Linked DNA regions of Homo sapiens: regions 2, 3 and 4 are each linked to region 1. The links are contacts of gene promoters, found by promoter capture Hi-C in blood cells and fetal thymus (Javierre and others, 2016). All regions are on one chromosome and are shown on one strand. The core of a region is centred on a gene start or on the middle of the fragment in contact, and the rest is flanking DNA. Distances in the headings are between cores, read along the strand shown.

The links. The method cuts DNA at HindIII sites, captures the fragments that hold promoters and counts their contacts. A CHiCAGO score of 5 or more calls a contact.
Region 2: a fragment that was not itself captured here is called in contact with the fragment with the promoter of AATBC in region 1 in 5 of 17 cell types (endothelial precursors, erythroblasts, megakaryocytes and 2 more); the score reaches 9.1 in endothelial precursors.
Region 3: a fragment that was not itself captured here is called in contact with the fragment with the promoter of AATBC in region 1 in 10 of 17 cell types (endothelial precursors, erythroblasts, megakaryocytes and 7 more); the score reaches 15.1 in endothelial precursors.
Region 4: a contact is called between a fragment that was not itself captured here and the fragment with the promoter of AATBC in region 1, in 1 of 17 cell types (endothelial precursors). The highest score is 6.3, in endothelial precursors.

The regions. Positions count from the first base shown.
Region 1 is chr21:43,811,317-43,817,296 of GRCh38, forward strand. It overlaps AATBC (apoptosis associated transcript in bladder cancer), which reads right to left and starts at 1,251. Exons shown (of 2, transcript NR_026961.1): 1 at 1-1,251. LOC124905033 (a long non-coding RNA gene) reads left to right here and starts at 1,356. Exons shown (of 2, transcript XR_007067897.1): 1 at 1,356-3,679. The HindIII fragment of the contact is 6,406 bases long and covers 449-5,980 here.
Region 2 is chr21:43,945,818-43,951,604 of GRCh38, forward strand. All of the region lies in intron 2 of AGPAT3 (1-acylglycerol-3-phosphate O-acyltransferase 3), which reads left to right. It overlaps LOC105372826 (a long non-coding RNA gene), which reads right to left and starts at 697. Exons shown (of 3, transcript XR_001755079.2): 1 at 658-697; 2 at 242-347. The HindIII fragment of the contact is 5,034 bases long and covers 1-3,943 here.
Region 3 is chr21:43,981,473-43,987,351 of GRCh38, forward strand. It overlaps AGPAT3 (1-acylglycerol-3-phosphate O-acyltransferase 3), which reads left to right. Exons shown (of 10, transcript NM_020132.5): 10 at 832-5,879. The coding sequence ends at 920. Among named protein-coding and RNA genes, the nearest start is that of TRAPPC10, 28 kb to the right of the region's middle. RefSeq lists enhancers at 1-495, 496-1,257, 1,258-2,019, 4,472-5,002 and a silencer at 3,652-3,711. The HindIII fragment of the contact is 4,574 bases long and covers 830-5,403 here.
Region 4 is chr21:44,066,108-44,071,648 of GRCh38, forward strand. The region is part of intron 7 of TRAPPC10 (trafficking protein particle complex subunit 10); the gene reads left to right. Among named protein-coding and RNA genes, the nearest start is that of PWP2, 39 kb to the right of the region's middle. RefSeq lists an enhancer at 1,148-1,690. The HindIII fragment of the contact is 207 bases long and covers 2,135-2,341 here.

The DNA.
Region 1 (5,980 bases), core at 1-2,500:
GGCCAGAGGTCGGGAGGGGACAGAGGGAGCCACATAGGAGCCTCTACCAGCCCCTTTCTTACCACGGGGTGGGGGCGCTTCCCTCCCACAGGGTCTCAGGCTTGTGGGCTCCCCCCAGCTGCCCAGGCCCCAGAGGGCACTTCTGACCCTTCTCTTTGGGGTCTGCCCTGGGGGGCTCCAGGCCACTTGCTCCACCCCATCCCTCTTCTGGAGCCTCCCAGCACCTCAGTTCCGACTGTGGGGAAAACAGAACCCTAGGAAGCAACCTCACGGCTGTGGGCAGGGGAGGGCGGCCGGGAGCCCCAGCTGCCCCACAGGGACATTGAGTGAAGGCAGAGCCTGGGAGGGAAGTCAGATCCGTGCATGGGTCCCTTCCTGTTGGTGTTGGCGTCCCTGAGTGAGCAGCCATCCGCCGCCCCCTGGAAAGAGACCTGGAGAAGCAGCTTCAAGCTTTGGAGCCCAGCCCAGCTGCTAGCAGCCCCTGGGTCACAGTGCGAAGGGGGAAGGCAGGGGCTTGAGGAAGAAAGTGAGAGGATTGTGCCTGGGGGCCCCTGGAGGGCCAGTCTGGAGGCGCGTTGGGGTGAGGCGGTGCTGGCTGTGCCCGTCTGAGATGGGCAGAGGGAAGGCGCCCAGGGCTGAGCCCAGGGTCCCCAGGCCAGTCCCTCACTGCTCTGGGGTTCAGTTTCCTCACCTGCACAAAGGGCGGGTCCCGTGCTCTCCGGAGGCCACACGGGGTCTCCCTGAGGCACTGAGTCTGGCTTGTTTCTGGAAACTGAGGCACAGGAGGACGTTGATAACCGGCCTTCCTCTGTTCTCTTTCCCAGGGGTGCAGCTCGTCCGTCCCATGGTTTCAGATTTGCCCGGTGTGTTGCAACCACCACCTGGCACTCAGCTTGCCCGGTGCCGCCTGGCCCCGCAGCCTTTCCCAGGCCTTGCAAGGGTGGCACAGATGGGGAAACTCCATCTGCAGGGGCGTCACCCCCGAGGGATGTGTCCTCCACACTCCCTTGATGGTCACGTGGGTCCCGGGAGGGCGCGTGTGACTCTTCCCAGGATTGCAGCGTTGGGGCGTTGTGCCAGCCTGGCCCCGTGGGTGCGGAGTGCCGTGGACCCCTCGGCCCTCCTGACCTTGTTTCCCTTTGATGTAGAAGTCTGCATGGCATGAATTCCAGTGACAATGGGCCGGGCCAGGCTCCCTGTGCCCCTGGTACCGCTGCCCAGGGCCGGTCTCTGCAGTCACCCTCCTTCCTTCCTGGTGGCTCCTCCCTCCCTCCTTTGTTCTTCTTTCTTTTCCTGCCTAAATGTTTATCGAGTCCCTCCTGCATTAAGTACCCGTGCTGTGCAACAAATTACCTTGAACTTGGTGACTTCACCACCACTGCATGTCAGCGCCCAGCCGTAGACGAGGGTTTGGGAGGCATGGCTGGGCCTGCCCAGGGCTCCCTGGCTGAAGTGGGTGCTGAAGCTGCCAGGCACTGGAGGCTGGGCCTCTCGCACACTCCCTGGCTGTTGGGAGGGTGCATTCTTCTTTCTTCCTTGTCTTCTAGAGGATGCACTCTTGGCTGTAGGCCTCCCGTTTCTCTCACGGGCTATTCCTGGGGTTCCCTCAGATCCTGGAGGTGCCCACAGCCCCCTTCCCCGAGGCTCCCCCCCCCACACACTTTGCTTCTTCAGTGCCAGCAGGAGAAATTCTCCCTCATCAGCTTCCTCAGAGAAGGGCTCACCTGGTCAGGTCAGGCCCCGCACTCGGGCAGGCACAGCAGGGCGCACCCCATGACGCACCCAGAACCCGCCCCCACAGCCCCGGAGTCCTGGCCGCTGTCCCCAGCCCTACGCCCCTCTCAGAGCTTGAGCCAGGGGCAGCGCAATGGGCAGCTCCTTCCCTCTCCTGTCCCTGGAAAACTGCTCTGGGTGATTTGGCGGAGAGTGAGAGGATTCGAAAACGCTGGTACGTGGCAGGGGCTGGCAGATTCCAAAAGTGGCCCCAGACTCCCTGGACACCCAGACCATCCACCTGGTGCCACAGTACCTGATTCCCATGGCCAGGGCATTGGGGAGCCAGGCAGGGGCAGGGGAGGGGCGTTCCAGGTCCTCCCTCCTTGCCTTGACCTACATCCCAGGTGACCCAGCGAGGCCCAGGCCCCCGCCCAGTCTGCCCCGCCTCACAGTCAGGCTTCATCCTCATCCCCAGCAGCCCCTGGGCCCCCCATGTCACCCTCAGGGCACTTGAGGGCAGGGTCAGGCCAGACCAAGTGTGGGGCCTGGCCAGGAGCAGGTGGTGCCGGGGAATGAGTATAGGGCTTATGGTGCCGTGGCCTGTCTGCTGCCTGGTCTGTCCTAAGGCCAGTGGCCCTGTCCCTAGGCTGTGGGGCACAGGTCCCATTCCCCGGGGGAGTGAAGGGCTCAGGCAGCAGGCAGCCCCGTCCCCTCCCCTAGGGTGTGCCTGGGTGACTCCTGGGCTGGCCGACTGGGAGCTAGCCTGAGTGTAGGTTTTGAGTCTGAGCACCAGGTCCTCACCCTGCCCCTGGCACCCCTTGGGCACCTCCTGGCACCCTGTCTGCTTTGTGCCACTTGCCCTGGGGTCTGTCCCTCCCTTGGACAGACAACAGTGTCCTACTTTTTTTTTTTTTTTTTGAGAGAGAGAGTCTCGCTCTGTCGCCCAGGCTGGAGTGCAATGGCATGATCTCGGCTCACTGCAACCTCCACCTCCTGGGTTCAAGCGATTCTCCTGCCTCAGCCTCCTGAGTAGCTGGGATTACAGGCACACGCCACCATGCCCAGCTAATTTTTATATTTTTAGTAGAGACGGTTTCACCACGTTGGCCAGGCTGGTCTCCAACTCCTGACCTCATGATCTGCCCGCCTTGGCCTCCCAAAGTGCTGGGACTACAGGCGTGAGCCACTGCGCCCGACCCATAATGTCCTACTCTTGCCTGAAGGCTCTGAGCCGTTCGGGTCTCCTGGACACGGAGAAGCCACAGCCCAGTGCCACCTGTCCTTTTCTCTCCGCTGCTCACAGGGGCCGAGGTCTGCACACCCATGGCTGCCCCAGGCTGCCCGCCAGGAGCTGCCTTTTCCCTGGCCAGGCTGTTTCTCAGCCCTGCGGTTCCCAAGGAAACGGGCTTCCAGGCAAGCCCGGGTGGAGTTCACTTTTCTCCCAATTGGAATTCGGCTGAATTGAATCCAGCCTCTGCTCCCCTCACCTCCGCATCCTGAATTTCTGCTCCCAGCTCCCTCGGCCTGGGTCAGGTTGGGTGGGTGGTGACACCGTATTCTGGCCCTTGGGGTTTAGGTCAGAGGTGCTGGGGCCTGTGTGGGGTGATCATGGCACTCTGCGGAGAGGGAGGGAGCCAGGCCAGGAGGTCGGCTTGGCTGGAGACAGCCTGGTCCCACTGGGAGCCCTGGAGCACCTGGAGTTGGGCTGGCTGGGGCAGGAAGGTTGTCTTTTGGGCACCCCTCCAACCCGTCAATCAGCCGTGGGCTGCCCTTCCATTGAGATGTGGGGAAAACCTTGATGAGGTTTGTTCAAGGTGAATGTTCGTGAGGTGTGAGCCACTGCGCCTGGCACATGATGTCCTACTCCTGCCTCTCGCCTCAGGCAAGGGTCCGCAACAGCCGGGCTCAGCCTCTGTTTTGGAGGGAGGAAGGAAGGAAGCAGGAAGACTACCTGAAGCCCCCAGTAAGTGCAGTGGAGAAGATAGAGCAAGGTGAAGGGTTGGCCGTGTGGAGGGCGAGTGTGCGGTCAGGGGAGGGCTTCTTTGGGCAAATATTTGACAGAGGCAAAGCCGGGAGCCAAGTGGATATTTGGGGCAGAGTGGGGTTGGCGGCAGGAGTAGCCAGTGCCAAGGCCCTGCAGGGGTGCACGGGTGTGTAGACCGGTGAGAGGGCGTGGCAGCAGGGGAAAGGGGGGTGGGCGGGGGGGAGGGGGGGCGACCGGTGAGAGGGCGTGGCTGCAGGGGAAAGGTGGGTGGGCGGGGCGGGAGGCGACCGGTGAGAGGGCGTGGCTGCAGGGGAAAGGTGGGTGGGCGGGGCGGGAGGCGGCCGGTGAGGGGGCGTGGCTGCAGGGGAAAGGGGGGTGGGCGGGGCAGGGGGGCGGCGGGGAGAACAAGTGGCCCCATCCTTTGAGGCCGCTGTGTGAGTCTGCTCTGGTGGCCGTGACAAAGGACCACAGGCTGGGGCTTCAGCAACCCACATAGATTCTCCCACAGTCCCGGAGGCTGGGGCCCGAGGCCAGGGTGCAGTGGGGCTGGCTCCTGAGGCCTCTCTCCTGGGCTGGCACCTGGCGCCTCCTCCCCGTGTCCTCACAGGGCCGTTTTCCTGTGTGTCTGTGTCCTCATTGCCTCTTATAAAAACACAGGTAGGTTGGGTGGGGTCCACCCAAATAGCCTTATTTTAACTTAAAAAACTTTTCATGTTCTGGCTTCTCAATTATTTTTTTTTAATTAAGGTATTTGTGACACTTAAAGATCATATATTTAAGATACAATTTGCTGATTTACAATCTAATTTTAATCTAATCTCCTCTCTTAAGACCCTACCTCCAAATACAGTCACAGCTGGGATCCTGGGGGAGTTAAGACTCCCACGTTCGGATTTTTGAGGGACACAGTTTGGCCCGTGACAGTCCCTTGCTGTCTGAGGGACACAGTTCGGCCCGTGACAGTCTCTGCTGTCTGAGGGACACCGACCCCCTGTGCGTTTCCTGTCTCCAGCTGCCTGTGTCGGTCACACATGTTATTCTCACGCGCTGGCCCTGGTCACCTGGTCCCCTCCGCACCCTGGGCACATGCCGGCCTTGGTCACCAGGTCCCTTCCGCACCCTGGGCCGTGCCGCACTTGGGTGGCATTTTGGGTGGAGCAGCCCCGGCCCCTGCCTCCCTCTCCTGCTGAGGGTTAACGGGGCCTGATCTCTGGGTGAGCTGCTGTGCCCTGTGCACTTCCGCCTCCAGGACCCTCAGCCACCACCAGGGCACAGCCCAGCTCAGCCAGGTGGTGAACGGACACAGGAGCTACTGGGGAGATTTGGCCCCAGGTCAGGTCCTGGCCTTGGGCGTGTGGCCCTTGTGGGGCCAGAAAACCTGTCCCTACCGCCCAGCAGGTGCTAGGGGATGACATAGCCCCTCCTGGACATAGGCCCTCCTGCCACTCTCCCCCTGACCAGGAAGTCACCCCCAACTGCCCCTCTGACACTTTCCCTGTGAGAGGCAACCAGGCACCCCACAAAGCCTGCTGTGGGTTCTCCCAGACCCAGGCTGGAGGGACTGACCCATCAGCCACCTCCCCTCCACCCCTCCCCAACCCCCCTGGCCCCAGACAGCCTCTGTCCACGAGGGGTGTGCCCCCGGAGCTGGCCACAGCCCCAGCAGGGACGGCAGCTCTGTGGGGCTGGTGGGGGGTGCCTCTGCAGGGCACAGGTGGACAAGAGGCCTCTCCTGCATGGCCTGCAGGAGGCCCAGCCTAGGAGGAGGGCTGAGGGCACCAAACGAGGCAAAGCCTGGGGGACCATGGTTGGGGTGGCCAAGGAAAGAAGGGGGGCAGCAGAGAGCGCCATCTGCTGCAGGCTGAGCTCAGGACGGAGGTCTGGGCACACTTGGCTTGGGGCAGGTGGCCGCCTTGTGTGGGTCGAGGAGGTGCAACCTGACCTGTGACCCAGTCCCTGGTTCTGAGGTCACAGCGAGGCCACTGGAGACCTCAACTGGCCGGGCCGTTCGCCGTGCAGGGTGGCTGCAGAGACCCGCTCAGCAGGTGCCCACTGTCACCCGGCCGGAACCAGCAGGCAGGCGTGGCAGGACAGACCACAGGGAGGATGCTGGAGGGGCCAGGGAAGCACATTTAGCACACTTGGGGCTGCCTGTGGTCTGACGCCCCAGAGGGTGACACCTTTCGAGGCTCGAAGGCAGCTCAGGGCAGCTCCTCCCACACAAAGGCCTCCTCTGGGCTGTGAGGGTCAGTGTTTCTCCTGGGGCCCAGCCCTGGGGCC
Region 2 (5,787 bases), core at 177-2,676, 130 kb after region 1:
CTCTTTGTTTAGAACATTGTGGAATGCCTACATCATCTCATGCTTGCACAGGAGCGTGGCTTTGTCAGAACTCATCCCCAGGCAGCCCTGTGGGCACCTGGTGGGGGCTGGACAGGGGTCACGAGGAGAAGCCAGCAGGAGGGTGGTGGGCCCTCCACCTTGTCCCCGCAGGACTCCCCTCTCTGCCCAGACACACTCAGCCTCCACCAGGACTCAGGGGTTCCAGCCAAGCTCCTCTTACCAACGATGCCCCGTGACTGCCCCAGGGACGGGAGGGCTCAATGCCATTCCCCTGCAGGCCCTGTCTCTCCCCAGCTTCCAGTTGGTTGTCCTGCAGCCTCAGGTCTCTGATGGGATGAAGCAAAGTCGAGAACTTACGGTTTGTCTGGCTTTATTCTTGTGAGAGTGGGAGTGACAAGCTCTGTACATCCCCAGCAGAAACCAGAATTCCACCTCCTACATAACTTTGTAAATTGCAAAATATAATGAAAAGTGCATGAGGCCAGGCACAGTGGCTCACGCCTATAATCCCAGCACTTTGGGAAGCCGAGGTGGGTGGGTCACCTGAGGTCAAGAGTTCGAGATCAGCCTGGCCAACATGGCAAAATCCCTTCTCTACTAAAAATACAAAAATCAGCCAGGCGTGGTAGCCCGCACCTGTAATCCCAGCTACTTGGGAGGCTGAGGCAGGAGAATCACTTGAATCCAGGAGGCAGAGTTTGCAGTGAGCTGAGGTCATGCCACTGCATTCCAGCCTAGGGGACAAAACAAGACTCCTTCTTAAAAAAAAAAAAAAAAGTGCATGAGACATTGATGACCAGTTTAATGAATAAGTATGCAGCAAATATCCATCTGTTTCTATAGAGTAAAAGTAGTTATTATAACGCGTAGTTCGTTGTAAGAAAATTATGTCTAGGTCAACTTAGCTGTGACTGTTTTATGTGTGCATGCATGTATGTGTGTGTGTGTACATGGGCGTGTGTGTGTTTTGGAGTGTGGTCCCCACAAATCTGCCACCCTTGGAGAATGCTCTTCTGCCCTGGTGCATGGCTGTGCCCTAGCATGGGAAGCGCCTGCTGTGTCCTGCAGGCCCGCAGACTTGTCACAGGTCCATTGTGCAGTCATCAGGCCCTGGGAGCTTTCCACATCCCTCCACCTCCCACCCAACATCACCACTCTCCGGCCAGTGAGACCATCACAGCACCCCAGAGGAGACAAATTCTGGAGCTCAGAGAGCTGGGGTAGGTGACGGGAGGGTGGGGGGCTGGAGGTCCTTGGCCAGCAGCCTTCCCATCCTGGGCCACCAGCACCCTCATCCTCCCCTCGTCCTGCCCAGCTCCACCTCCTCCCTGCCCTCTTCCTGCCAGGGTTTGCAGTTTACACTGGCAGTGATGCAGTGGCAGACACAACTTGGGGAAATAACTCTAGGACCCTGGTCTTTAGTTCCGATTCCCGGTGAGACAGTACCTGGCGGGGAGCTTCTCGCCCTCTTCAGAAGTGGCCTGGGGGCCCTGGGGCTACTGATCCAGCCCAAAGCTGCAGTCAGGAGAGCGTGCAGCCGTGTGGGTCTCATAAGAGAGGCCGACCAGGGCTGCCCAAGCGGAGCTTCTGTTTGGCCTCTACCTGCTGGAGTGACGCCCCCGGCATCTCCAGCGAGGCCTGGAAACGTCGCAGTCTCCTCTTCACTGAGTCCAAAGTCACTTCCATCTCGGGCCCGTCCAGTGTCTGTCGGGGCCTTGATTCTGAGATGAGATTGTTTGCTGAAGTGCTCCATGGACTCTTTCAGGAGTGACGTTGTTCTTTCAGGAACTGTAAACGGAGGTGGCATGTAACCAGTGTGGACTAAGAAGCCATGCTGCTGTTTCTTTTCTTTTCTTTTTTTTTTTTTTGAGACAGAGTTTCAAAAAAAACTGCCTCCCGGGTTCAAGTGATTCTCCTGCCTCAGCCTCCTGAGTGGCTGGGATTATAGGCGCCTGCCACCACACCCGGCTAATTTTTTGTATTTTTAGTAGAGACGGGGTTTCACCATGTTGGTGAGACCATCACCATGATGGTCTCAAGCTCCTGACCTCAAGTGATCTGCCCACCTTGGCCTCCCAAAGTGCTGGGATTACAGGCATGAGCCACCGTGCCCAGCCTATGCTGGCTGTTTCTCACAAATGTATATTGAATACGAGCCATTCGCTTAGAAAACATTGATCAAGCATCTGTATTCTATGCCAGGCCCACGTGAGTAAGAGTAATAGCTGTTGATGATGTAAGCTGTGTTTTTGGCCAAAGGTAACAGAGATAGTGATTTAAACACCGTTACCTCTTGTCTTCCCCGCCTCTTGAAGAGGGCAGCTGCTGGTGTGACCTCAGCTGCTCCCCAGACCCTAAGGGGATCTGGGACCTTCCACCTTCTACCAACGGTGTTGGTCTTCTGTCCTCACGCCTATGGTTTCACGCTCCCACAGTGGCTCCTGCACCTTCAGACACTGCCTCCTCACCGAGGGAGGGAAGAACGACAAAGGTGATGACCAGAGGTATTTGTTTCTTGTCTTAGGAAAGCAAAAGCCTCCCTTAAAGCCCCCGCAGACTTCTCCCTGGCTGGACCCAGGGCACATGCCCATCCCATCCCTGGATCACTTGCTCAAAGAGGGGATGGGATTACCTTTATGGCTTAGATCTGGGGCTGGGCTTCCCTCCCATATCCAAGGGTGAGCGCTGCCATAATAGCAGGAGGTTCTGTTACCAGCAAAGGGGGTAGTGGCAGGTAGGTAACTCACAGTGACTTGCATGTTGCAAAAGGCGGGGTTCTGTTATCCGGAATTGGAGGAGTGGTTTTAGGTATGTCATATAATTATGCCTTTAAATCCATTGGTTGAGAAAACAGGCAATGCTAAAAGATTCTCATGAACCTAGCAGCGGTTTTAATTTTGTATTTTATTTATTTTATCAGTATCTAAATACAATAGAAATATAAATACAATAGAAATGGAATGGATCATGTGAGATGTGTGTTGTTGACGAACGTGTAGTCAGTGCTTCATGCACATGGGATCCAAGTCCCCAAACAGTGGCTGCAGATCCACACCCTGCTCCAGGTGCTGAGGTGCCCCAGACAGCTGCTCCTAGTCAGTGAAGCATTGACTCTTTAGTCTCAATTGTTGGTCTGCATGTCTACTGATAAGCCGGTACTGTGCTGTTTTAATTATTGAGGCTTTCTAGATGTTGTAGTGTATTTTAGGGCTATTTTCTTGTTCTTTTTCATGATTTTCCTGGCTTTTCTTCCCTGTTTAGTTTTCCATATGAACTATAGAATCAGTATGTCTAGTTCTGGGGCTGGGGGGGAGCTTTTGCTATTTTAATTAGGATTCAGTTATATATTTAGGTTTATGTATCATTTACATATTACTATCTAACAAACCACCTCAAAATGTATCAATTTAAAACAACCATCATGTCGGGGGGCCCTCAATTCTGTGGGTCAGCAATTTGGGTTGGGCTCAGCAACATGGTTCTTCTGCTGGTTTCCCCTGGGGTCATTGGAGTGGCTGTCGTCAGCTAGAGCTGCCTGGAGAACCTCAGGTGGAATGGCCCATTTCTGGTCCATTTCTGCTCCATGTGGGACCACCTTCTGTCAGACTAGCCCAAGCCACCACCTCTGATGGCCACAAGGGTGTAAGGGAGTGGCAACGCTCTAAAGACTGTCTTGGAAGTCCTGTGACACCAATCCCACCACATTCTATTGATAGGGTGAGCCCTGAAGTCAACCTGGGTTCAAAAGGGTGGGGAGTAGACTCCATGTCTTGGCAGGAGGAGCTGCACGTTACTAAGGGCATGTGTTCAGGGAAGGGGTGGTTGCAGCCTGGTCACACGGGGTTTTTCCATTTGTTCAGCTCTGCTTTTGTATCTTTCAAGATGTTCTGTGGTTTCCTCATAGAGGCTTTATTTCCTCTGAAGCTTTTGTTTAGGTATTTTCTCTTTCTTATTGCAATCTGCGCTCTCCTTCAAGACACCTTCTGCTTTTGTGTGTTCCTGTGGAGGGGTGGTCTGCTGGGCCCCTCTCCTTGGCTCCTGAACACACAAGGGGATCATATATCCATATCCTCCCAAGCTGTAAGCACTTGCGCTGGGCTGCAAACTTGCATCCTACTTGCCGTAGAGGACAGCCCTTCCCCTAAACTTCCAGTTTCCCCCTCTCCCACCTGCCTGAAAGGCACCAGCCAGGCAGTCTTGGAAGCCTCGTGTTGAAGGTGGTGGAGCCCCCAGAGCCTGGGCCCAGATGACCATGTGGGACAGAGCTGCCAGTGACCTAGAGCCATTAAGAGAGCAAGAGATAAACTCTGTGATTGTCTTGGTCTCTTCTGACTGATTCGGAGGCCACTGCAGTCTGCATGTTGTACATTATTCCTGTTAGCATCACTATCAACTCTAGTTCCTGTTGTAGTAGATTTGGATTCTCCTGGGTATTGAGGCTACACAATCGTCTGCACAGACTGACAGTTTCACCTCCTCCTGCCAGACTTTTAGTCTCCTGCTAATTCCAAATGCTGATAAGGTTGGGCTGGCAACAATTTCATATTTTTCAGGCTTATGAAGAGGTAAGGTGGTCTCTGTAAGTGAATTTACCCAAGAACTGAAATTTGCCCTTTAAACCTCAAAATAGGATTGTGTTTGTTTCATCTAAAATTTTAGTTGAATGCTTAGTAGTATCTTCGCTGCTTACCAGACTTCTCAGATAATGTGGTAACTGTGACGCCGCCCTCTCTCAGCATTCGGACGAGATCAGCGTGGGCCACAGTCACCGCATTGTGCCCTCATGCGTGATGTCAGAGAGCCTGCAACCGCGCCCCCGCTGCTCAGTGGCCTCCAAGGGGCCTCAAGTCCTGGGCTCGTTTCTGCCCCAGGTAGTGCTGTCAGCGGCATGCCTGCCTTCTGCAAGCCCCTCTTCCCTGTTCCCCAGCCCGCACTTCCAATGAGCTGTGGGCCAGGAAACCAGCCCGTCACACTTGTCCACGCTGCGTTTAAAGCGGGAGGAAGGAGGACCCAATGCAGGGCCCGAAAGGTCCACTGTGAGTGAAGTCTTTTTCCTTATGGGACACCTAGGCTGGCTTCTCAGAAAGTGTGTGCAGTTTATTTCCGGGTTCTTGGCGGTGTTCTGAATAGTAAACGTTGCCACCTAAATGAAGACCCTTTGAGATATCACTGCGTCTCTACTGTTCCTGATGGTGGACTTTCTCCTCCAGCGTCTGCTGACAGTAACAGTGGAGCTTTCCCCAGCACCCAAGAGCCCGGGGCTCACCGTGGTCCCCTCCTGTGCAGCCAGCACACAAGGCCCTCCCGTGCCACCACCTCGCAGGGGCCAGGTCTGCTCGGCCCACTACACCAGAGCCCTTGGGTGCGGGGTGGGCGGGACAGAGAAGAGGAAGGGGGGAAGGAGGGAGCTGACAGCCGTTTCTCAGTTCCCCATTATGGACTTGGATTTGGATCACTGAAATCCATATGGAACTAAGAAGTTATCTTTATCCCACAACTCAAAACTCCTGTCTAGAGCATCAGAAATGATGTGCTTTTGGCATCCTGAAATGTCTTTCTCCTCCGCCAACTGCTGTCTGCTGAGAGCTAGCCTTGCTCTCGGAAGGGCGGCTTGGGCAGGGCAAAGGGAGAATTCCAGGGTTTGGGAGCATCTGCTGATCCCAGAATAGTTGCCAGTGGTGACATCTTCTTCCTGGACCCCAGGACCCAAGGACAGCAGGTCCCATCCCAGCTCTGCCCAGCTCCTGCCCCTGCACAGAGCAGGAC
Region 3 (5,879 bases), core at 1,867-4,366, 170 kb after region 1:
GAGGGTCCCCAGCCCCCCTGTCTGCTTTTGGGCTCTTAGGGGTCAGGCTGGGCTGGCCATTCGGGAGGTTTAAGCAGGACATCATCATTCAGCTCCTCCCCATTGACCCCCAGTGACTTCCCCACTGTGTGCCCACCCCAGGCACAATGCCAGGCCCACCACGACTCATCAGCTAGCCTGGGGCCGAACAGACACCCAGCCTGTCCCTGTGGTGAGCTCCGGCGCCCACCCACACCCCGTAATTGAGGGGTCTCTGTCCGTGGAGACACAGTCCGTGTGCATCGCCCCGTGAGCCGACTCCCCAGGCCCAGCAGCTGGGCCAGCTCCTCCCCTGCTCCTGCCGCCCCTGCCAGGGGCCTTGGTGGGAGGGGTCCTGAGAGGCAGTGACTGCCACCAGCCTCTCCCATTGGACTACGAGATGACTTGAGGCCACCCACAGAGGACAGGATGTGACCTGCTTACATCCGAGGGTCCTGCTCGTCCACCTCTGTCACCTGTTGGGTTTGCAAGGCCGAGCTGTTAGAATGCCCCGAAGCCCTTCTGCTCCCACCAGCCAAAGACCCAGAGGGGCAGGCAGGGCAAGGTCCACGTGTCCACCTGCCTCGGACCCAGCCGGTCAGAAGACGTGCCCCTCACCCCTGCCTGAGCAGACCACGGTCTGAGAGGGCTGTCTCCCCGCGGGCCACACCTACTCACTGACAGCAGAGGCCACTGGGTGCGGGGCAGAGGGACAGGGTCTGGGGCAGAGGAAGGAAGCCCCAGTAACACGTTTTACAGCAAAAAGGCAAAGTCATCCGTCTCACCTCTTCTCTCTCTCTCCTGTCTTGAAAGCTTCCTTTGGAGTTCGCAGACTGATAGGAGTAACTGAGATAGAAAAAGGCTCCAGCTACGGAAACCAAGAGTTTAAGAAAAAGGAATAATTAATGGCTGTGACTGAACACACGCGGCCCTGACGGTGGTATCCAGTTAACTCAAAACCAACACACAGAGTGCAGGAAAAGACAATTAGAAACTATTTTTCTTATTAACTGGTGACTAATATTAACAAAACTTGAGCCAAGAGTAAAGAATTCAGAAGGCCTGTCAGGTGAAGTCTTCAGCCTCCCACAGCGCAGGGTCCCAGCATCTCCACGCGCGCCCGTGGGAGGTGGGTCCGGCCGGAGAGGCCTCCCGCGGACGCCGTCTCTCCAGAACTCCGCTTCCAAGAGGGAGCCTTTGGCTGCTTTCTCTCCTTAAACTTAGATCAAATTTTTTGGTTTTTAATCAGTTATCTTGGGAACTTAACCTGGCCCCTCACCTCTTCTGCACCCCCCGCCCCCGAAACTGTCTCGTAATGAATTTCTGCTGTCCTCCTGGGAGTGGACGGCCGGGTCCCGTCCCCCGGGAGCATCGCTCGGCTCAGCACCTTGGCTCCCAGTGGGGGCCCCGTGGAGGGCGCCCGTAGTGATAAGCACACCGGCACGAACGTCAGGTCCATTCCTCGAAGTCGGAGCCCTCACTCTGCCCTGTCCTGGGGCTGGCTGAGGGCGAACGCCCCACCTCACTTTCTAGAGCCCTGTCTGTCCTAGCTCCTATCTGACCTTGTGTGTAAATACGTACATCTGTTTTTAAAGTGGATGGGCCCCTGAGAACTCAGTGAAATGCAGAGTTCTCCATGCACCTAAAGCTCCTTTGTCGCTCTCATGGCTGTCAGATCCTGGTCCCTCCACACTGGGTGCTGGGGAGGGAGGACCCTCGGGGCTACCGCGCGCCCCCCCATCCCACAGATCAGGAGCCAAGGAGGGAGAACAGGGCAGCCTGTGGGACTCTAGGATGCTTCAGAAGAAGCGACGGCACCGTCAACCCTCTGTTTTTTAAAGGTGGTTGGAGACTGTTAACACTGAGCTCATTGACTTCTAGAGATTTTATTTTTACTGGTTGATCTCTTGGTGGTTTTCAACTTCCTGCTGGAAACTAGAGGTGGGGCACCCCCCACCCCCCAGCCTCGCACTGTGTCCTTGGGGAAGGCCCGCCCCCATCCTGGCCGGTGTCACTGTGGCCCGGCCACCCCTGAGCGCCCAGCTCCCTACCTCCTGGACGTCTCTGAGAGTCCAGGCAGAGCAGAGGGCAGCGCTCGGCCGGTCATGCTGGCTCCCTTGGCCTTGCAGCGAGCCCCTGGCCCACGCCGAGCGAGGGATGCTTCTCCCTACAGCATGTCCACTCCCCCGGCATGGCCAGGTGGGGCCCCTGGGGCAATGGCAGTGGTAGAACGCTCAACTTGGTTGCGGTACCATCAGCCCACCTGCATTTGGCTTTCGACTTGCTTGTTCTAAGTCACAGCGCCCTCATCTTTTTAGCAAGGTAAAAAAACCAAAATGGGTGTTATCTCTGATATCTTGAAACCAGCGTTCTGAATAGAGGTAGGTTGAGTTTTCTAGGGGAAAACAAATGGAGAAAAGAGGCATGAAGAAAAGTAAACCGAGAACATAATTAGGCATCGGGCCTAAGTGTCCTGGGGAGATTGGAGGGGACGGCAGCGTTCTGCATGATGGAGGCGCTGCCGGGCCCCGGGTCTGTGGGGGCCGTGCTCTCAGGGCGTGTGCGGGACGCCACCTGTGCACACCTGCTCAGAGCACGGCTCCTCGCAGGGGTGAAGGGGCAGACCAACGAAACCAGATGAGACCAACGACACCATGCGAGACACGCTTGCAGACACTGTTGTTTTGGAAATGTGCTTCCCTCCATCTGAAATCTCATCCCTCCACCCGCCCACTCGGGCAGCTGTGCCGTGGGCAGGGCATGCGCTCCCCTGGCTGAGCACCCCAGAGATTCTCCTGCACCTTCCTCATGCCGCACGCTGCTCATCCGTCTCCATGTGTGTTTAGATCCATGCCATTCACTGACTCACTAACACCTGCAAAATCTTTAAGGAAAAAAGCTGAAGGGTACGACCATGCACATATGTGACCTGGAAAATGCAAATTTAGATCTTTTATGATTTAATTATTATTGTTTCCCATAGAAGTTCCCTCCCTTTGAAATTAATATATAATGTATAAATTCTGCACTGAGCCATGGCGGAGCTGGGCAGCCCCTAGGTTAGAGTGGAGACGGAGGCCCAGGCGCAGGGGTCACACCTCATCTGGTTTCCTTCCCATCTCACAGCTTAGCTTGTGCTTCTCAACACCAAGTCTTTAAGAGCAATAAAAACTACACCATGAATGTTTGAATTTTTTTTTTTTGGGGGGGGGAGGGTGGATTTTGCTTTTCATCCAGAAGGAAAAGGGGAGGAGAGCTCCTTTACATTTTTTAAATTAAATTCATAAATCCCAGAACAGTCTTTTTTTTTTCTTTTTCCTTTACACCCTACTTCTGAGCTTAATTCAGTTGATGTTATGTCCAAATTCAGGCTGAGTGCTCAGGCTGAAGCAACTCTGTAGCCCACAGTCCGTGCTGGCCACTGTCGGGGTGAGGCACATTCTAGGCCTGGCATCGCTGATGCCCTCTGCACCCAGTCCTTGAGCCAGGCCGAGGACAGGAAGGGCATTGCTGGCCTGTAGCTCCTGTTACCCACCCAGAGCCAGGCGCCACACTGGAGGCTCCCAGGCGGGAGGGCCCAGGCCCACCCACGGGCGTCTGGCCGGTCAAGCTCCCAGCCTGGGCCGTGGTCTCCTGGGGACGCCGCTGGCCTCCCAGCTTAGGCCCAGGTGCCAGGTGTCATGGGGTCTCCTGCCCATCTTCCCAAGGATGCCATTGCTGTCTTCATCGTCTTCCCCCGTGTGAGACACTGGTTGTCTGGTACTCGGCGACAGTGTACCAGACGCGCACCCTATGTGAGGTGCTTTAAGGTCCCTGTCCTCAGGAAGCGCAGTCTGGTGGAAGAGATGAGCGCTGAACAAATCACTAAATAACACAAAACAACAATGTAAGCAGCACTTTCTTGTGTAAAAAAAAAAAAAAAGCACGTCCTGTCGATGAATTTTGAGTCTCTCTGCCTTGCCTGTCCCGACTCCCTTTCGCGCACCGTGGCATGAGAATCTTTCCTCACGCTGTTCGTTGCGGTATTGCTGAGCATTGATGTTGATTTGAAGGAAAAGCCGTGGTTGGACCCAGCTGTGTGTTTCACTCACGTGCAATTGAGTAGCTGTTGCCAGGCTGTCCATGCCTGTTGTGACTACCGGTTGGGGTCAGATTTGGGGTGAAGAATGAGTAAGTTTCTGCATGCTTTGTCTCTACCTGAGACACTTCTACAACAAGCCAAGTATAATCTCTCCAGCCCTGCAGATTTTCACCTGACTTGTTCAGCCCCATGCGTAGACTCCCGCTGCAGGCCTCTGGCCTGTGGCTCACTGCATGCAGCCCCTGGCGTGCAATACTAGTGCTCCACGGCGCGATGTGCTTCTAGCCCTTGCACTGCACCTAGGCTCAGGGTTCAAACGGCCAGCCCGAAAAGCCTGCCTGCCTTCTTTCTGGAAACAGCACGTCCCCGGCCGTGTGCCTGCCCCTTTCTCTACTGAGCTAGTCCCCAAACCAAAGGCAAGCCCCCTCGGGCCTCGGGGGATGGGGCCGGCCACACCCCTGACTCCGCCCTGGCTCTGCCCCATACCCCTGCCGTGGGGCCGACCTGGGGGATGCAGACATCCGGCTCCGTATTCCTGCCTATCGGGGCCAGGATGCAAAAACAATTTTTGCGTAAAAGATGTCACACTGATCTGCTGGAGTGGGGTGGACACATGAATTCAGTTTTATCATGAACACTCGCCACTGGCTGCTTGTTAATTCAGGGATAATGGTGGCATTCTTACAAACTGCTCGGGAAATAGAATGACGGGAACACTTTTAGGGAGCCCAGGAAGTTACCAGGGACATTGGTGTCGCCGGCCCAGGCAACAGCAGCGTACGCTTTTCAAAGATCATTGAGTTGTCTTAGAATTTGAAGCTGTGTAATGACAATGTCACCTGGAGTTCGTCTCCATTTCTTAACTTTTTGTTGCACAAGTATTTGGACAGAAGTCGAACTGTGAATGAGATACTGAAATGCACTAAATTGTATTACATTAAACTGGAGTTACTTGATACAATGAAGAAATGCATCTGATCTACTTGTATTTATTGTCTCAGAATTGTACGTTGTGACAATCAAATGTTACTTGCCTAAATGCCAGGAAATTCAACTGGCCTTTTAATCAGCAAGATCGCCAGCAAGTACTGTAACTGTAAAGGAAAATCTCTCTCTCTGGAGAACCCACACAAACCATTGACCTGAGTGCGCATGACAGCCACTGGCTTCTTTTTCTATGATTGAAAATCTGCCATCGCTGACTGTTGGCCAGTTTCAAAGGGACCCATTGTATACAGGGTGCAAATGTATTATACGGATGTTTCCTTTTGTACACTTCATTTTTACAAGTTTTGCTACTCACAAGCTTTATGTAGTGGAGGATAGAGGTATTTTTGGTCTTTAGAAGCTTGTCGGGGTGAGGGCTGCTAACTTACACTTCAGAGGCCTGTGTCCCAAAGGCCTGGCTGCGTTTGCCGTGCTGTGCGAGGACCTGTGTACACAGGCAGGTGTGCGCCTGCCCGAGCGCGAGTAGCTCTTGTGTAGTGGTGAAATGCTGCAGGCATCTGTTTATTAAAATTGCTGCTGTGAAAGACAGGGATAAAATATCCACAATATAAGAGAAAGCGACTCCGTGCCTCCTTCTGTTTCTTCGTTTCCAGTCTGCATAGATGTCTCCAAGGGGAAACCAGGGCCACCAGGCACTCCTGTCCCATGGGGCCACCCACCTTCAGAGCCCACTCCCACGGGCTCTGTTTCCTTGGAGGCCATCCTGCCGATGGCACTTTTCAAGGCCCTCCCTTCCCTACGAGTTGCTTTCTGGGAGGGGAAATTGAAAAGG
Region 4 (5,541 bases), core at 988-3,487, 260 kb after region 1:
CACTGTCAGTTGCAGATCCCACTGTCCCACTTTCGAGTGGGTGGCTTATAAAACATGTCCTGCTAACATCCTGGTTGCTTTACCAGTTGATTTGAAGTACCTCATTTATTTAAAGAGAATAGGAGGCAACGAAGTGGCCAGCTGTGATGGAAACTAGCCCTGCTCTGTAGTAGGGCTTGATCCACACTCCAGGGGCGACGGGGGCTGAGGAGGGGAGCAAGACGGCCGGATAGAGGCCTCTGCCCTGTGGGTGCTGCTTACTAGCCTTGCGCACTCCCTTAATGGAAAATGTGTTAAGAATGGAGATTGTGCCTACCTTGCACAGCTGGCTGCTGGGGTGAGCGGTAACACCCGTGAAGTGAGGCCAGTTCTGCGTGAGTTCAGGATCCTCCTTGACAGAGTATTTCCTTTTTTTTTCTGTAACAATTTCTAATTTTCCCTCCATTTACAAAAGTTGAATGTTTTCTTTATGTAAATTTGGAAAATAACAGACAAATATACGAAGAAAATGTCGTTGCTTTTGCTAGCAGGAAGAGGTTCCCTTTTTTTGTCCATGGCCTTCTTATGTATAGATGAACTGCAGTTATTTCCTTGCTCCTATTTGGACATTTGAATTCTTCAAAATTCTTTGCAATTGCAGCAGTTTGTATCCTTATACATACATCTTTGTGTGTAAATTCATACAAGTAGAATTGGAAGGTCGAAGATAGACATGTTTTTAAAGCTATATGTTGTTAATTTGTCCTCCAGAAAGGTCTTCCCATTTTCAGTCATGCTAGTGATGCCTGTTTTCCTGCACCTTTGGTAAGAAAAAAGTATGATACTTATATATTTTGTCGCCAAATTAGAAGAACGGGGAAGATACTTTCTTGAAGGCCATAATGTGTTTGTTACAATGATTGCCCAAGTGATTTTTTGGGGGGGTTTGGAATGTGTTTCATTCAGCGTTTGACCTTTTATCACCTTAGCTGCTGGTTATGTAACAGACCGTGTGGGCCTAGCAGGGTCAGGACTCCTCCAGACCCCAGGGGAGTCACCAGCCTAGCCTGTGGCACGGAGGAACCGTGCATGGGACGCCGTCGGAGTTAGCTGGCCGGTTTGTGAACAGAGGCTGTGTGTGGCCAACCTGCAGGTTGAACCAGAGGAAGAAGAAGGTTTACAGTCAAAGCTGGCCAGCTGGGATCGGTATTCTGAGGTGCAGGCCTGGCAGAGGACAAAGGCAGAGATGTAGTGTGGGAATGTAGATTGTGTTTGCTGAGGGCTTACAGTGTACCCGACACCCTGCTGGGTGGGTGCTCTCATGTGTAGGTGGAGGATCTTGTGCACCCATGAGCCATGAGGGGGAGGAGCTGGATTGAAGGAGGAGGGGTGGTTGTGAGAGCTGTTGCTGAAGAAGAACTGATGGCTCACTGGACAAAAGGAAAGAGAGGACTGTCAAGAATCATTCAAGAAACGTTTCCTTGCCTGCCAGGCACTGTGGGAGACAGGGATGGGGGTGCACATAAATGAAGAGGAAAGGGCCCCACCTACCGGCATGAGGTGCCACGGGTCATCAGCACAGTGTCCAAGTAGTGACGAAGTGTTGTCTGCACACAGGGGACTGTAAGGGAGGGAAAGGCAGCTTTGCCGGATGCCTCAGGTCAGCTTGGTAAACATTTGCAGGTGCCTGATAGGTGCTAGGGAAGCTTTCTAGAGGAGGCCCTATGTGAACTCCATTAAAAAGATTCATTCAGGCTGGGCACAGTGGCTCAAGCCTGTAATCCTGGCACTTTGGGAGGTCGAGGTGGGCGGATCATGAGGTCAGGAGTTCCAGACCAGCCTGGCCAATATGGTGAAACCCTGTCTCTACTAAAAATACAAAAATTAGCTGGGCGTGATGGCAGGCGCCTGTAATCCCAGCTACTCGGGAGGCTGGGGCGGGAGAATTGCTTGAACCTGGGAGGCAGAGGTTGCAGTGAGCCGAGATCATGCCACTGCACTCCAACTGGGCAAAAGAGTGAGACTCCGTCTCAAAAAAAAAAAAAAAAGGACTCATTCACTTATCAGATCTTCATTGAGCTTCTGTTTTGTGCCAACCATTGTGGTAGGCACTGTATTTTCAGCAGAGAGTGAAATAGAATTCCTGGCCTTATGAAGCTTACGTGCTAAGGAATGAGTAGGGGGAGTAAGAACTCACCAGGTAGATGTGACTGCTGGTGGCGCGGGAGAGTGCGTTTCAGGTGGAGAAGATGGTGTTATTGAAGGTGCTCTGGAGGAGCCTGGTCTTGCTAGAACTTCAGGGGTGAGGCAGGCTTTGGGGGCAATGAAGGGAAATTCTGAAGTTCTTTGTGTGTCACGTTGAAGCTTGCCCTTTGTTCTGTAGCCAGTAGGGAGCCATGAAAGGTTAGGACCTAGTGAGGCAGAGGGCAGAGAGAGGCAGAGAGAGGTGAAGAGTTTGGAAACTTCTGCCATAGTCCAAGGGAAAAGACGGAGTTCCAAAAGGCAGTTGAGGTAGATTTTATTTTTTATTATTATTATTTGAAACACTCTGTTGCCCAGGCTGGAGTACAGTGGTGTGATCTTGGCTCATTGTAGCCTCCGCCTCCAGGGTTCAGGCAATTCTCCTGCCTCAGCCAGTCAAGTAGCCAGGATTACAGGTGCGCACCACCATGCCCGGCTAATTTTTGTATTTTTTGGCAGAGATGGGGTTTCACTATGTTGCCCAGGCTGGTCTTGAACTCCTGAGCGCAAGTGATCTACCCTCCTCAGCCTCCCGAAGTGCCAGGATTACAGGCGTGAGCTATTGCACCCAGCCGGCAGATTTTAAATAAATAGGTTCAAGAAAAATTTAGTGAATTGATGGTTCTGGGTCCACTGGATATCCATATATAAAAACAAATCTTGATCTCACCCCATAAACAAAATTAATTCCAGGTGGAGTTTTGATCTAAACATGAAAAATAAAATAAGAAAACTCTTGAAGATAACTTGGGAAAATGTCTTTGGGACCTTAAGGTTGGCAAATATTCCTTAAATAGGACATGAAACCTTTATGGTTATGCACCAGCCGTGAAGGAAGAGGGTCCTGCATTAGACTACGTAAACATCAGTGCTTCTCTTCACTGAAAGGTACTCTGAAGGGAGTGAAAAGGCCCTCCGCAGCTTGGAAGAGTACAACCAGTATATATAGACAAGAAAGGGCCCTTACTCCAGGGCGTACTGTGAAGAACTCACATACATCAATGCAGAAAGACTGACAAACCAGTAGAAAAACAGGCAAGAGAGGAAATCCAAATGGCCGATAAACATGAAAAGGGGCTCAGTCTCATGAATCATAGCAAAATGCAAACTGAAGCCATTATTAATGAAGTACCAGCACACACCACCAGAATGGCCAGGATGGAAAGGCTTTCCTCGGGTATCAGTGGGAGGGTGGAGATGCTGGCGCTCATTCACTGATGGTAGTGTGCATCACTGGGACCACTTTGGAAGGCTGTTTGCGATATCTAATGGGTATCGCCATTACAACACATGCCCCGTGACCCAGCACATCCACCCCTGGTGTGTACAGATACATGCACACACACATGCATCAGAAGGCAAGTACACAGAGATACCTGTGGCACCCGTGAGTCATTGGAGCTGCAAACGGGGAAGAACTCAAATGTTCATCTTGTCCAAGGGATGACAACGTTGCACCGTGGCCCTGTAGTGTGCTAGGGTACAGTGATGAACGTGAATGGGTCGTAGTGGATGACTCTAACCAACCTGAAGTTGAGCTAAAGAAGTTAGACACAAGAGAAGGCATACTTTTTTTTTTTTTCTGAGATGGAGTCTTGCTCTGTTTCCCAGGCTGGAGTGCAGTGGCGTGATCTTGGCTCACTGCAACCTCTGCCTCCCGGGTTGAAGCGATAAGAGAGGGCATACTTTTTGATTCCTTGTGTCTGAAGTTCACGGTGAAGCTACACCAGTCTGCTGTGAGCTCTCTGGCAGGTGGAGGGGCTGGTGACTGGCAGGGAGTTCCAGCGGGAGCTGCCTTCACGGGAGGCATAGCAGGCGTTCACCTAGGACTCATGTACCTTCCAGTGTGTGGGTTGCACTCAAGTGGTAGGGGTATCAAAAGAGAGAAGAACAAGAATGCCTTTAATTTTATACTTGGAAGTGGCAAGATGGCACTTGCCATTGCTAATACAGCAATCAGGAGAGGAGGAGGGACTTTAAGGAAAATTAATATAAATTAAGAATTTGTTTAAGAAGTCTGTTATTCACAAAAGATGATATCCAGATGGCCAAGAGGTATCTGATGGCCCATTAGGGAAATGTGAGTTTTCTGGAGACGGTGAGGCCACCACCCGGTTCCAGAGTGAGGTGACCAAGCTGCACGCTCTGCCATTCAGTCTCAGGCTCTCAGGGCAGAGCGGAGGCTTGGTCTTTGTTGTGTTGGGTGCTGTGGCATGCTGGGTGGCAGATGCCACCATAGAGGCATGGCCTTCGTGCTGTTGGCTGAGGTGCCCATTTTCTGTGTCGGCCACCATTTAGGAGCAAGGGGCTGACATTTGTTTGGACGACTCAAAGCCATGAAGCCATGGCTGCAGAACAATTGCTCTTTTCCAGAGTTTGTGAGACTCTTGTTTTTTATTCTCAAGCTGCACTCTAATGGGTAAAATAAGCCAGGGTGGCTCTGGCACTCTCTGTCCCCTTCCCCCGAGCTCTTGCGTCTCTGCTGCAGGGATGCTGGTGGGAGAAGAGTGCTGGCACTGCCTGTGTTCTGCTGTGAGTAGCCTGGCGCACTTGGGCCTGGGGGCGTCTTCGGACCCTGAGAAGTCATCCCTCCGTTGAGGCAGGGGTAACATTGCAAATAGCTTTACCCATAGTAGCCAAACACTGGAAACAACCCAGACACTTGATAGGAGTGGATAAATAAACTGTGGCCAACTTGTAGAAAGGTTTAATAAGCAGCAGTGAAAAAGAACAGGCCGACAGACTCAGCAAGGTTGAATCTTAAAGATACTGTGTGGAATTAAAGAAGCCCCATGCACAAAGGAGGACATGCTGTGTGATTTCATTATATGAAGTTCACAAATCAGCCAGAAGGAATTGATGGTGGCCGAAGTCAGGAGCCGGGTGCCTCTTTGGGGTGGATCTTGACCGGGAAAAGGGACTTGAGAGAACCTTCTAGGATAATTTTATTTCTTGATTAGGTGGTGGTTACATTTGTAAAAATCATCGACCTCTAAATTTAGGGTTTGTGCCCTTCACATACCTTGTTGTATGCATTTTGCCACTTGTTTTTTCAAAGCAATGAAAAAGTATCACTGCAATTAGGTTTTAAATAAATTTGTTTCGTTAACATGTCTGGAAGTCTTAGATGTCTTACTGTGGAAGGTCTCGCTGCTGTGGAGCCCACCTCTTTCAGGCCCTCTAAAGTATAGAGAAGAAGCAGAGTGCTCGGCCCCCTTTGGGGTGTTACCTGGGGTTTGGGTGGGAGCTAAGAGACACACACAGTAAGTAGTAACATACGAGGCAGGCGGCTCTGCAAGGCGGCACTGCAGAAAGGGTTGT